4 separate regions of the Homo sapiens genome follow, and all the other regions are linked to region 2. The links are contacts of gene promoters, found by promoter capture Hi-C in blood cells and fetal thymus (Javierre and others, 2016). All regions are on one chromosome and are shown on one strand. Each heading gives the region's core, a stretch centred on a gene start or on the middle of the fragment in contact. The rest is flanking DNA. Distances are from core to core; before and after follow the strand shown.

Region 1 (2,700 bases), core at 79-2,578, 470 kb after region 2:
GAGAGTTGAGAACATTCTGAGGTGGTCTGCAGCCCTCTGTGTTTTGTTATTAGAACATCATAGAATAGATCGAGAGACTAGAAGTAGCCCTCTAGACCAGCCCTGAGTCATGTGACCCAACAAGGCCCACAATTGGCCATGCTGTTTGGCTGCTTGCAGAGGAAAAGCAAGGGTTTACAGCTTTCCAGAGCTTCCCTGCTGGTGGACTCGTATCATACACACATTAAGTATATCTGGATTAATTTTGCACTAGCCAGCATTTTAAAATAGAAGAGAAAACTCACAGTTTTCATAGTGCTGGTGGCACCCAGCCTTCCCTCTGTAAGCCGTTGGCCACAGGTGGTGGGTCTCTGTGAACAGAGCACCTGCCCTGAGGCAGATTCCAGGAGAGAATGGGAGAATGTTTTTACAGGTTTCTTGTCTACTAAAAACACATGAAACCAGTGGCTCAGGTGGCCAGATTAATGTATGGTGATGATTACTCCTACATCCTTGAGGAAGAAATTGAAGGCATGGTAAAGAATTATTCTGAGGGGTGGAGGTAGTGACTACATGGAAGAATGGGTGAGTGGGTCACCTTGAAAATATGCTGAAACACCCAGGCGCTGTGGCTCATGTCTGTAATCCCAGCACTTTGGGAGGCTGAGGTGGGAGGATCACTTGAGGCCAGGAGTTCAAGACCGTCTGGCCAATAAAGCAAGACCCAATCTTTATAAAAAAAAATTGAAAAACTAGCTGGGCATGGTGGTGCACGCTGGTAGTCCCAGCTGCTTAAGAGGCTGAGGCTGCAATGAGCTATGATCATTCCACTGCACTCCAGCCTGAGTGACAGAGCAAGACTCTGTCTCCAAAAAGGAGAAAATTATGCAGAGACTTCTCAAGCAGCAAATTTCTTATATATAGTAGTTCCCCCTTCTCCTCAGGGGATATGTTCCAAGACCCCCCGTGGATGCCTAAAACTGCAGATAGTACCCGAACCTTACATATACTGTGGTTTTTCCCATGCATACATGTCTATGGTAAAGTTTAATACATAATTTAGGCACAGTAAGAGATTAACAACAATAATAATAGAACAATTATAACAATATACTGTAATAAAAGTCATGCGAATGTAGTCTCTTTCTCTCTTTCAAAATACCGTATTTTACCACACCATGGGTAGCTGAAACTTTGGAAAGCAAAACCACAGAGGAGGGGCCAGTGTAGTATAATCGTTGGGTAGCACCCCTCCGTGGACTTAGATACATACTATCTACACATTTGTACTCACTTGACTGATGAGAGTTATATACACAAAGCTGTCCATACTGTATTTACTGGCCATCTAAGGCATTTTCAAGGGTGATCTTTGACTATAATTTTCTCATAATGTGCTAACTTAGAACTTATTCCCTGTCTGAGAAGTGACTTTTCCTTACTAAAATCTGACTACCTTTTCTATTGGGATGTGCTTTAAGCCTGATTGCCTCTTGCTCCAAATTAAACTTTCTCCTCTGCTTATGAGTGAAAAATACAGAATATGTTCCTACATCCAAGGCAATTTTCCCTGACCCTTTCTTTCTTCAGACCAAATGGTTCATTGCATTTAATGTTCTCTACATCACTAAGAGGGATAGATGGAAACTGCAGGGCCCTTCCTGCGAGGCGGTGGGGCAGAGAATAGGTTCAGTGTTAAGGGAATTAGGCAGTGTGGCTCAACCCTGCCTCTGTACCATTCTTTCTGTGACCTTAGGTGAGTCCCTTGACTTCTCTAGGACTTGGTCTCCATTGAAACATGAGCAGATTGGCCCAATTGGATAACCCCTTCCAGCTCTAACATTTTGTGTTGAAACTATTAAACAGACATTTATCAAGCACCTGCTGTATACACACATGACATTGTACTAGGGGCTGTGCTGGGAAAGACCAAAATCCTGCCCTGAAGAAGTTTAGGAAGTATCTCTCTGGTTTGAGTGATAGGTAAGGCCCCTGCATAGGCAGCCCAAGGTGGAAGCTCATGAGCTGGTGTCCCCTGCTGTCACCCTGCTGTCCCCACCTACAGATCAGATTTGTAGTAGCTGCTCCTTTGGACACAGTGCCTCTTGGTCCATGTTTATCTTTTAGGGCAGCAGGCTTCTTTTGCAAGAGGCCATGGTCTGGGGGCCATACTCTGTGTCACACTACTCTGCCATTGTAGGGAGAACTGGTACAGGCAATATGGTAAATAAATGGATTTGGCTGTGTTCTAATAAAACTTTATTTGCAAAGATGGTTTGCTGACCATGTGTTAGTCATTCAAAAGACTAACACCCTGTCTTAAACTCCAGAAGTGGTTGCCTGCACCTAACTGGGGTCTGTGGACCTGGCCAGATAATTCCTAAACATGGGCCAGGCTCCGCATAGACCCCACTTTCAGTTTTTCATCATCAGAGACCTGTCTGGAGGTCTTGTTATTACTGGGCTTGTTCTACAGCAAGAGCATTCAAGACTCTCCACTAGAGAGTCAAAGGAACTGCCAAGGATTCCCATGGGCCCCCAGAGCCAGGAGAGCGGATGCTTGCCACCTTTGTCTTTAGGAGCAGATCCTTCTATCCAGACAGAGGCTCTTTGATTGAGATTGACCCAACAAAGCCAGCCCGTGCCCGTTTTTGGAAACACCCACAGGCTCTTACCTTGTTTCCACATCTCTTAGCCTCTTCAGAATGTTCTGCAAGGAAA
Region 2 (2,700 bases), core at 68-2,567:
TTTTCAAGAGGATCCTTGACACAGAGTATACTACACATAGAAAATTAAGCAAAGAATTATATGGGCCAGATACAGGGTTTCAGGGACATTTTTATGTGGCCTGAAAGAACCTACTATTTTCTTGGATTTGCTGCATTCTAATTTTTAAATAATGCTACTCTATAAATTCAAACACTTCCTATTTATAAATAGCATTTTTGGATTGACGTTTTTCACATAAATAGAGTAATAGTCTTGTATGAATAGTGGTCAAAAATAATACATCTGAGGTCATTTAATACTTTTGACCATTACAAGCTCCATTTAGCTAAGTAACTTTTGCTCATTCTTAGAGAAGGCCACCCTCCTTTTCTTTTTTTTTTGAGACAGTCTCACTCTGTCGCCTGGGCTGGAGTGCAGTGGCACAATCTTGGCTCACTGCAACCTCTACCTCCTGGGTTCAAGTGTTTCTCATACCTCAGCCTTCCAAGTATCTGGGATTACAGGTGTCCACCACCATACCCAGCTAATTTTTTTATTTTTAGTAGAAACAGAGTTTTACCATTTTGGCCAGGCTTGGTCTCGAACTCCTAGCCTCAAGCGATCAGCCTGCCTCGGCCTCCCAAAGTGCTGGGATTGCAGGCGTGAGCCCCTGTCTTTTCCTTAACTCTTCTCTGCCCCCAGCAACTCAGAGGAAATGCATTTATTTCCACCTTATTGCTGCTTGCATTATAATACTGTCTTCCCTCCTCTCCCCACCTCCCTCACTCCCCTTTGCCAGTCTTTTAGGAATACTTTGTCCGAGTAGAAAAGAAGACATTTATAGGCAGAAAAAGTTAGAGTGTGCTGTTGACCTTATGATGCAGACAACATTATGAGGGCAAACTGAACTCTCAAGCCTGACCCAAAGATCGCTTCCTATCATCCAACCATTGCAGATAATCTCCAAGTATCATTTATGCTCATAGCTACTTTTAAAGTACTGTAGTTAATACACCATCCTAGCATAACTCTATATCACAGATTTGTTCTTTGAATGGTTAATTATATTTCATTACAACTGGCTTCCACTGTTACCCTCTATGTTTTATTTTGTACATTCAAAAACGTTATTCTGAAATGGTGTCCATAGGCTTCACCAGATTCCCAAAGGGGTCCAAGGCTATATTAGTCAATTCTCACATAATAAAGACATACTCAAGACTGGGTAATTTATAAAGGAAAGAGGTTCGATTGACTCACAGTTCAGCATGGCTGTGGAGGCCTCAGGAAACTTACAACCATGGTGGAAGTGGAAGCAAACATGTCCTTCTTCACATGGCAACAGGAAAGAGAAATATAATCAAAAGGAGAAAAGCCTCTTATAAAACCATCAGATCTCGTGAGAACTCATCCACTATTACGAGAACAGTATGGAGGTAACCACCCCCATAATTCAATTACCTCCCACTGGGTCCCTCCCATGACACATGGGGATTATGGGAACTACAATTCAAGATGAAATTTGGGTGGGGGCACAGCCAAACCATATCAGACACACAAAAAAAATTAAGAACCCTGGATTAAGGGGCTATCATTGTTAAAATTTTCGTGAAAGATTTTATGTAGATTATTTTGTAATCCAGATAATTATAGAACCTATAATCCTGAGTGGCATGGACAGACTTAATATTCACCCAATTTGAGAATACTAGTGTGAAATGGCATTCCTAGAGCTTGAGAAAGTTCCATTTAGGATAAATAAAAGGAAGTAAGTAAGACTTCTCACAGCAGCTACTAAATTTGGAGCACTTATTCCAAAAGGTTAAAAATATAGCTTCAAAAAAGACATCTTTGATACATGAACAACTGAACATTAATAGATCACTTTGTGAATCATAGACTTTGGGGTATTTTTAGGTTGGGGTATGGGAATCCATCCAGACATTCCTTGAAGGGCCTCTGGTGCTTCATTAGATCCAGTGCTGGTCTTAGCCAAGAGATCAGTTCAGGAAATCCTTATTTTTTTTCCTGTAGAGTGATGTGAAGGCCCAGTGAAGAATTGTCATCTTTGTGTTTACCTCCTCACTGTCACTCTGAAATGCTTGAATGCACTACCTGTTCTTTCTCTTGCTTGTGCACAGGTTGGGCAGATGCAGATTCTGAGACAACAGATTGCCAATGAATTAAATTATTCTTGTCGGTTTGATTCTAAACATCTGGCAGCTGCTCTGGAGAATCTCAATAAGTAAGTGCCAGGGTTTGAAACAGCCATCCGTGGGCTTGGATTGTTTATTATCTACGCACCCCAGTTTCTTCAGTTCTTACTCTTTTAAGTTATTTTTGGGTGGAAGGTCTGAATTTACAGGCTTCCTTGCCACGGATAATCAAATCTGTCTTCGGAGCCTCTTTCCTCAGTATTGTCCCTCCGTTTATCTCTGTCTCTCACTCACTCTCTCTAATGGATTCGTGTATTCAGCAGACAGGTACTGATCACATGATTCAATACATGTCTGCTGAACAAATGAATTCATTAGAGAGAGCGAGTGAGAGACACACCAGACACTGCTAGATACTTGCACAGATTTTAGAAAGCAATTATTACCAAAATCCGCAACTGGCTTTTTACAGGGCTGATCACTCATCATCCAGAGGGCAGTTGGAAGTGTGTTGATTACCAAGAGTGGTTATGGAGGCCTGTCCTAGAGGGAACTCATATCCTCCGCCTCACCAGCAACCTGC
Region 3 (2,700 bases), core at 141-2,640, 450 kb after region 2:
ACATGGGCATGGTGAGAAGCTTCTAAAGATGGTGGCTTATATTTTACAATGTGGTGAAATCTGACTTGTTTGTAAAGTTCTCTAAAGACCTCCATGATCCCTGCTAGTCTTCTATCCCTCACCTTTGCCTCTGTTGCTTTTTCAGGTGGGACCAGGGAGATTGGATCTGCTCTCACCAGGATGTGCATGAGGCACAGAAGCATTGAAGCCAAGCTGAGGCAGTTTTCGAGGTGAGGAGCATGTTTTGGCCCCGATCGCCAACACCCTTGCAGATTTCAGGTTAAGGAAGCAGTCATGTGTGGCACACAGCATTTAAATCCCCACAATCTGTCTGACTTGGCTCATTCATTGCCTGAGTATTGTTAGGCATCTGCTGCATACCAGGCACTGGTCGAGGCCCTGGGGGTGCAGCAGATCACCAGCCAGCCAGGCCCCTGCCTTCACAGAGCCTGTGCTCCTGCATGGGTCTCTCCTTACCCTTTGTCTGTGCAAGGAGCCGGTGCAGCCTGCTGAGGTCTTTTGGGCCCCCACTGCCCTGCGGGAGCCTCGCAAGAAGAGGGGCTGTGAAATTGGAGAGTGAGATGTGCCTTGGTATCCTGTGTGCATCCTCCAGACTCACTGAGGGATGTGGCAGCTCACAGACCACTCCACACCGCCAGCTTCCCATCTGGCTTCCAGGCATCCAGAATAGGGAAGAAATGGTAGTAGCTGGCACCGGAATTGGGTTACAAATGTTCAAGTGAAAATGGACATTGCTTTCCAAGCAGATCAGCATCATTCAGCAGTTTTATGTGATTCTGTTTGGGAGACTGCACAAAATGAAGGGGCACACCTTCAGAGACCTTCACCCCTCAGTAACCCCGAGGCTGGCAGTGCAGCTCGAGAATTTTCTGGGTCTCGTCACTCTTCTCTTTCTCCAGGCTGTGCATACTTAGTGTATATTTATGACCTGTCATGCCGCATGCACAGCAGAATCTTGTGGGTCTTTTTTAAAAATAGTGATGCTGGGCCCCACCCTCAAAGTCTCCATTGGGGGTGAGATAAGGCCCAGGTGTCTTTGCATTTTGGGGGTCCCTGTTGTGCAGCTCTCAGAGGGGTGACCCCTGTGGTTCTGCAACTTGGCTTGTTAATACAAACACTAGAATATCACAGGGAAAATGGGAAGAAGGGTCACTCCCACCAGTCACATTGACAGCTTCTTAGTAGTCATTGAAAAACATTCTTGGGGCCAGGCGCGGTGGCTCTCGCCTGTAATCCCAGCACTTTGGGAGGCCAAGGCAGGCGGCTCATGAGGTCAGGAGATCAAGACCATCCTGGCCAACATGGTGAAAACCCATCTCTACTAAAATACAAAAAATTAGTTGGGCATGGTGATGTGTTCCTGTAGTCCCAGCTACCTGGGAGGCTGAGGCAGGGGAATCGCTTGAACCTGGGAGGTGGTGGTTGCAGTGAGCCGAGATCGCGCCACTGCACTCCAGCCTGGTGACAGAGCGAGACTCTGTCTTAAAAGAAAAGCATTCTTGGAACATGGCTGTTCTGGAGCCCCGGGGTTTAGATGAGAACGTTTCGGGTAATTGTGATTTAGGTATGTTTTGACAACCACATTTAAATCCTGACAACAGAATGTATCTATTTAATTTCTCCCTTTTTCCCCCCCGCTTGGTAAAAGCGCTTTAATTGATTGTCTGATAAACCCACTTCAAGAACAGATGGAAGAATGGAAGAAAGTGGCCAACCAGCTGGATAAAGACCACGCAAAAGGTACAGGGGCGAGATGTCTAGCGCATCACTGCACGCTGGGGGGCGCTGTGGGAAGTTGCCAGCTGCTGCCTGGCCCCTCTGCTAGGTTTATTGGTGTCACCAAAACAGCCAAGGGCCCACTCTGTCCCTACTCTCCTGTAGGCACGTCCGTGTCAGGGGATGAGGAGAACAAAGTGATCCCGTTGTGAGGCTGAGTGCTGTTTCTTTGGTGTGAAACAACATTCAGCAGCTGATAGTCTGATCCCTCAGTGGCATGAATTGTATTCAGCTGAATTAAGAATAAATCACAGGGTGGGCGCGGTGGCTCAGACCTGTAATCCCGGCACTTTGGGAGGCCGAGGCGGGCGGATCACTTGAGGTCAGGAGTTTGAGACCAGCCTGGCCAACATGTTGAAACCCCATCTCTACTAAAAACACAAAAATTAGCCAAGCATGGTGGTGGGTGCCTGTAATCCCAGCTACTTGGGAGGCTGAGACACAAAAATCGCTTGAACCCGGGAGTCAGAGGTTGCAGTGAGCCAAGATTGCACCATTGTACTCCAGCCTGGACGACAGAGTGAGACTCCATCTCAAAAAACAAAAAAAAAGAAAAAGAAGAAATCATAGGCCGGGTGCAGTGGCTCACACCTGTAATTCCAGCACTTCAGGAGGCTCAGGTGGGCAGATCACTTGAGTCCAGGAGTCTGAGACCAGCCTGGCCAACTTGGTGAAACCCTATGGCTACTAAAAATACAAAAAGTATCCAGGTGTGGTGGTGCATGCCTGTAATCCCAACTACTCGGGAGGCTGAGACACGAGAATTGTTTGAACCCAGGAGGCAGAGGTTGCAGTAAGCAGAGATTGCACCACTGCACTCCAGCCTGGGTGACAGAGCAAGACACTGCCTCCCCCTAACCCTCCAAAGAAGTGAAAATCATCATGGCAGGTTTAAATGCCAAA
Region 4 (2,700 bases), core at 152-2,651, 490 kb after region 2:
ACCCTCTCAAGGCAGAGGAGGAGTTTGGTGGGTTTCATACACCCTGCAGATTCCTGTTGGCTCTAACCCTCAATTACCTAATCTTATGCTTTAACACATAACTGCATTGGATGTGAGAGTAACGTACCGTATGGTCATTGTTCTATATATTAACATTGAACACTGCTGCGATTGCTCAAGGACATTTTATGTTACGGCTTTAAAGCAAAGGCATGATTATTAGAAACTATTTAAGCTTTTTTCTTTGAAAAACAAGCTCCTTTTACAGAATATAAACAACAGTAGTGCCTGTGGTTTAGCCCACCAATCTTGATGACTAAAAGTAGCTGATGCATTGTGCATATGATGCTTGAGATGGTTTTTGCAAAAGCAGAAATCGCTGCAAGGTAATCACAATAGATAAAAGTGGTATTTTAAACCTTTGAAATAAATGGATGTAACTGTACCTTGGTACAGCTTTTCACTTGTTTAGTTTTTAAACGTTAGTATAATCTGAATAAATAAAATGTTGCCAAATTCAATGTAGAAAGAATGTGACAACACACCTTGGGTAGTTCTGCTTGTGTTTTTGCATATTGTAAAAGCAGTGTCACAGCTAAAAAGAAAGAAATCGTTTCTAACAGTAAATTATTGTGCTTTAGTTGCTAGTTTGTACTGAGAGTTGACCTCTCCCTGTGCAGTTTTTTGTTCTAAACTTGTATAAATAACAATTGTGTAATGTGTCTCCCTCCTACATTGTAACAATTGCTTCAGCCTACGTTATAAATAAAGAACCACTAGATTAAAAAAGTCCTGTATTTCAAGTCTTGTTACAATTCAGTTTGAGGTCTTAGTCAAATGTTAGAAGATGGACTGGGACTCAAATTGAGCTTACGTAGAAAAGTGACAAAATATTTTTGTGATGGCTATAAGATCATTAGTTGCCTGAAACTATTTGAAAACAGTTCTAGCTAATGAGGGATCAAGAACTAAAAGCAGCTGTTTTGGGTTGAAAGTTTTAAAAACTGCTTTATCTTTAAAAAACAAAAACAAAGCTTCTGAAACATTTAAGGAGTTCTGTTATTCCCTTACCTTTGAGTCCGCAGACAATCCAAGCTACGGTAGCAGAAGCAAAGCTGGAAAACTGCTTCTAAAATAAGCGCCACAAAGTTTTATCCCAGATTGGACCATTTAACCCCAACCATCAAACCTCCACCCCTGACAGAACTCCACAAATTCCATGCTTATTTGTTGACTATGTACTTCTTAGGGAGAGTTGTTCTTCTAATAAAAACTAAGTTCCATTAGTGAAATCTTTAGAAAACCAAAAAGGTTATTTTTAAATCCTCAGTATTTCTGTTCTTGGCTTTGTTTATTCCTTCTAGTTACCACAGCTAATTAGGCCTTTGACTTGAGAGTTTGTTCGCCTCAATCTGGTTCTGCCTCAGTTTTTCCTTACTGGTAACATATGCTATCAGTGATTTATTGCAGAGAACACAGCTGACTGACTACATGTCCTGTCATTTTCTTTACATGCACGATTGATAAAACAATGACAGTGGCACAGTCACTTGGCATCACAGTAATTCTTAGAAGAACGTCAGTCATACCAGAGACCATTTCACTGATTTTTTATTAGGGCAAGTGCATGTTCTGTAACATATTTCACTTGCAAGCATGAAAGATGAGGTCTCTCTCTTTCTACATGGGCCGCTCCCGGGGTCTGGTCACAATATACCACCACAGTGGGGGCAAATCACCTTCCTTTCGGGCAGGGGGCAAAGCTTCAGTTAAAGGACCACCAGGTGGCGTTTCCTCCTGCAGCTGCTTAACCTAGAAGGAGGCAAGGAAGGAATCATTACCAAAGGAATCTAATTGACTATAAAAATCTGTCTGCTGCAGTGAAGGGTCAGCTTTATGTCTATGGTGTGTCACTGACATTACACACTATCTGATCACAATATTGAAAAGTGTTTTTTACATATACCTGCTTTATTTTCATATCCACACTTTTAGAAAAGTCTCCTTAAGGGTTTTCCCATTCTTTTAAATAGCAAAGCCTACCCTTCCTATTCTTCCCCCTACCCCTTTTCATCACCTCATTATCTGGACCTCCTCTTATTCTGCAGACAGAAAAATGACAACTATCATTCCAATTCTCCTTGTCACAGCCCCCACCCACTGACCAGAAAAACATTTATTGTTGTGTCTCAGCTAAGTGTTCTCCAAAAGCACCATTAAGAAACCTCAGTTCATAATATGCTGGGGATGTTAATTCTAAGCCCCCTTCCTAGCAACCAAGAACAAAAATAAATCACAAAATTACATGTAAAAATATGCTCAGTTCTGCCAAGTGCTGCCCTACTACCTCCAGTTCTAGTTATGGCCAAGATAAATGTCCTAACAGAAGATCACCCATTCTGGATTGTGGCTGCCCTGGGCCTCCAGTCACACGTGCTGCTTAATAGTGTTGAAGTGATGGGATGTGTAAAGGAGGAATTGTTTGATGTTATCCCAGTGATCAATTGCAGAATGCACCTGCGGCTCACCATGCATATACTTCAAGCTTCTAAACGGTGAGACATTTCTGACAAAACACTGCCCCCTTTGGCCACAGTGCCCTTCCTTCGGGTCCCCCTTGGCCAAACACTTCCAAAGGTCAATATCCTCAGTGTTATCACCAGAACCAGCACAACTTCCAAATCATGAATTCAAATATCC

The links. The method cuts DNA at HindIII sites, captures the fragments that hold promoters and counts their contacts. A CHiCAGO score of 5 or more calls a contact.
Region 1: a fragment that was not itself captured here is called in contact with the fragment with the promoter of WASHC5-AS1 in region 2 in 9 of 17 cell types (megakaryocytes, M1 macrophages, erythroblasts and 6 more); the score reaches 17.2 in megakaryocytes.
Region 3: a fragment that was not itself captured here is called in contact with the fragment with the promoter of WASHC5-AS1 in region 2 in 10 of 17 cell types (megakaryocytes, M2 macrophages, M0 macrophages and 7 more); the score reaches 13.3 in megakaryocytes.
Region 4: a contact is called between a fragment that was not itself captured here and the fragment with the promoter of WASHC5-AS1 in region 2, in 6 of 17 cell types (erythroblasts, megakaryocytes, endothelial precursors and 3 more). The highest score is 13.2, in erythroblasts.

Annotation. Positions count from the first base shown.
Region 1 is chr8:124,568,869-124,571,568 of GRCh38, reverse strand. All of the region lies in intron 6 of MTSS1 (MTSS I-BAR domain containing 1), which reads left to right. LOC105375740 (a long non-coding RNA gene) reads right to left here and starts at 2,686. Exons shown (of 2, transcript XR_928608.3): 1 at 2,655-2,686. The HindIII fragment of the contact is 8,842 bases long and covers 1-2,700 here.
Region 2 is chr8:125,039,301-125,042,000 of GRCh38, reverse strand. WASHC5-AS1 (WASHC5 antisense RNA 1) reads right to left here and starts at 1,317. Exons shown (of 2, transcript NR_170219.1): 1 at 1,222-1,317. It overlaps WASHC5 (WASH complex subunit 5), which reads left to right. Exons shown (of 29, transcript NM_014846.4): 24 at 2,103-2,206. The HindIII fragment of the contact is 6,314 bases long and covers 1-2,700 here.
Region 3 is chr8:124,588,681-124,591,380 of GRCh38, reverse strand. MTSS1 (MTSS I-BAR domain containing 1) reads left to right here. Exons shown (of 14, transcript NM_014751.6): 4 at 146-230; 5 at 1,670-1,761. Among named protein-coding and RNA genes, the nearest start is that of NDUFB9, 51 kb to the right of the region's middle. The HindIII fragment of the contact is 2,738 bases long and covers 22-2,700 here.
Region 4 is chr8:124,548,873-124,551,572 of GRCh38, reverse strand. It overlaps NDUFB9 (NADH:ubiquinone oxidoreductase subunit B9), which reads right to left. Exons shown (of 4, transcript NM_005005.3): 4 at 1,594-1,812. The coding sequence ends at 1,681. It overlaps MTSS1 (MTSS I-BAR domain containing 1), which reads left to right. Exons shown (of 14, transcript NM_014751.6): 14 at 1-789. Among named protein-coding and RNA genes, the nearest start is that of NDUFB9, 11 kb to the right of the region's middle. The HindIII fragment of the contact is 729 bases long and covers 1,037-1,765 here.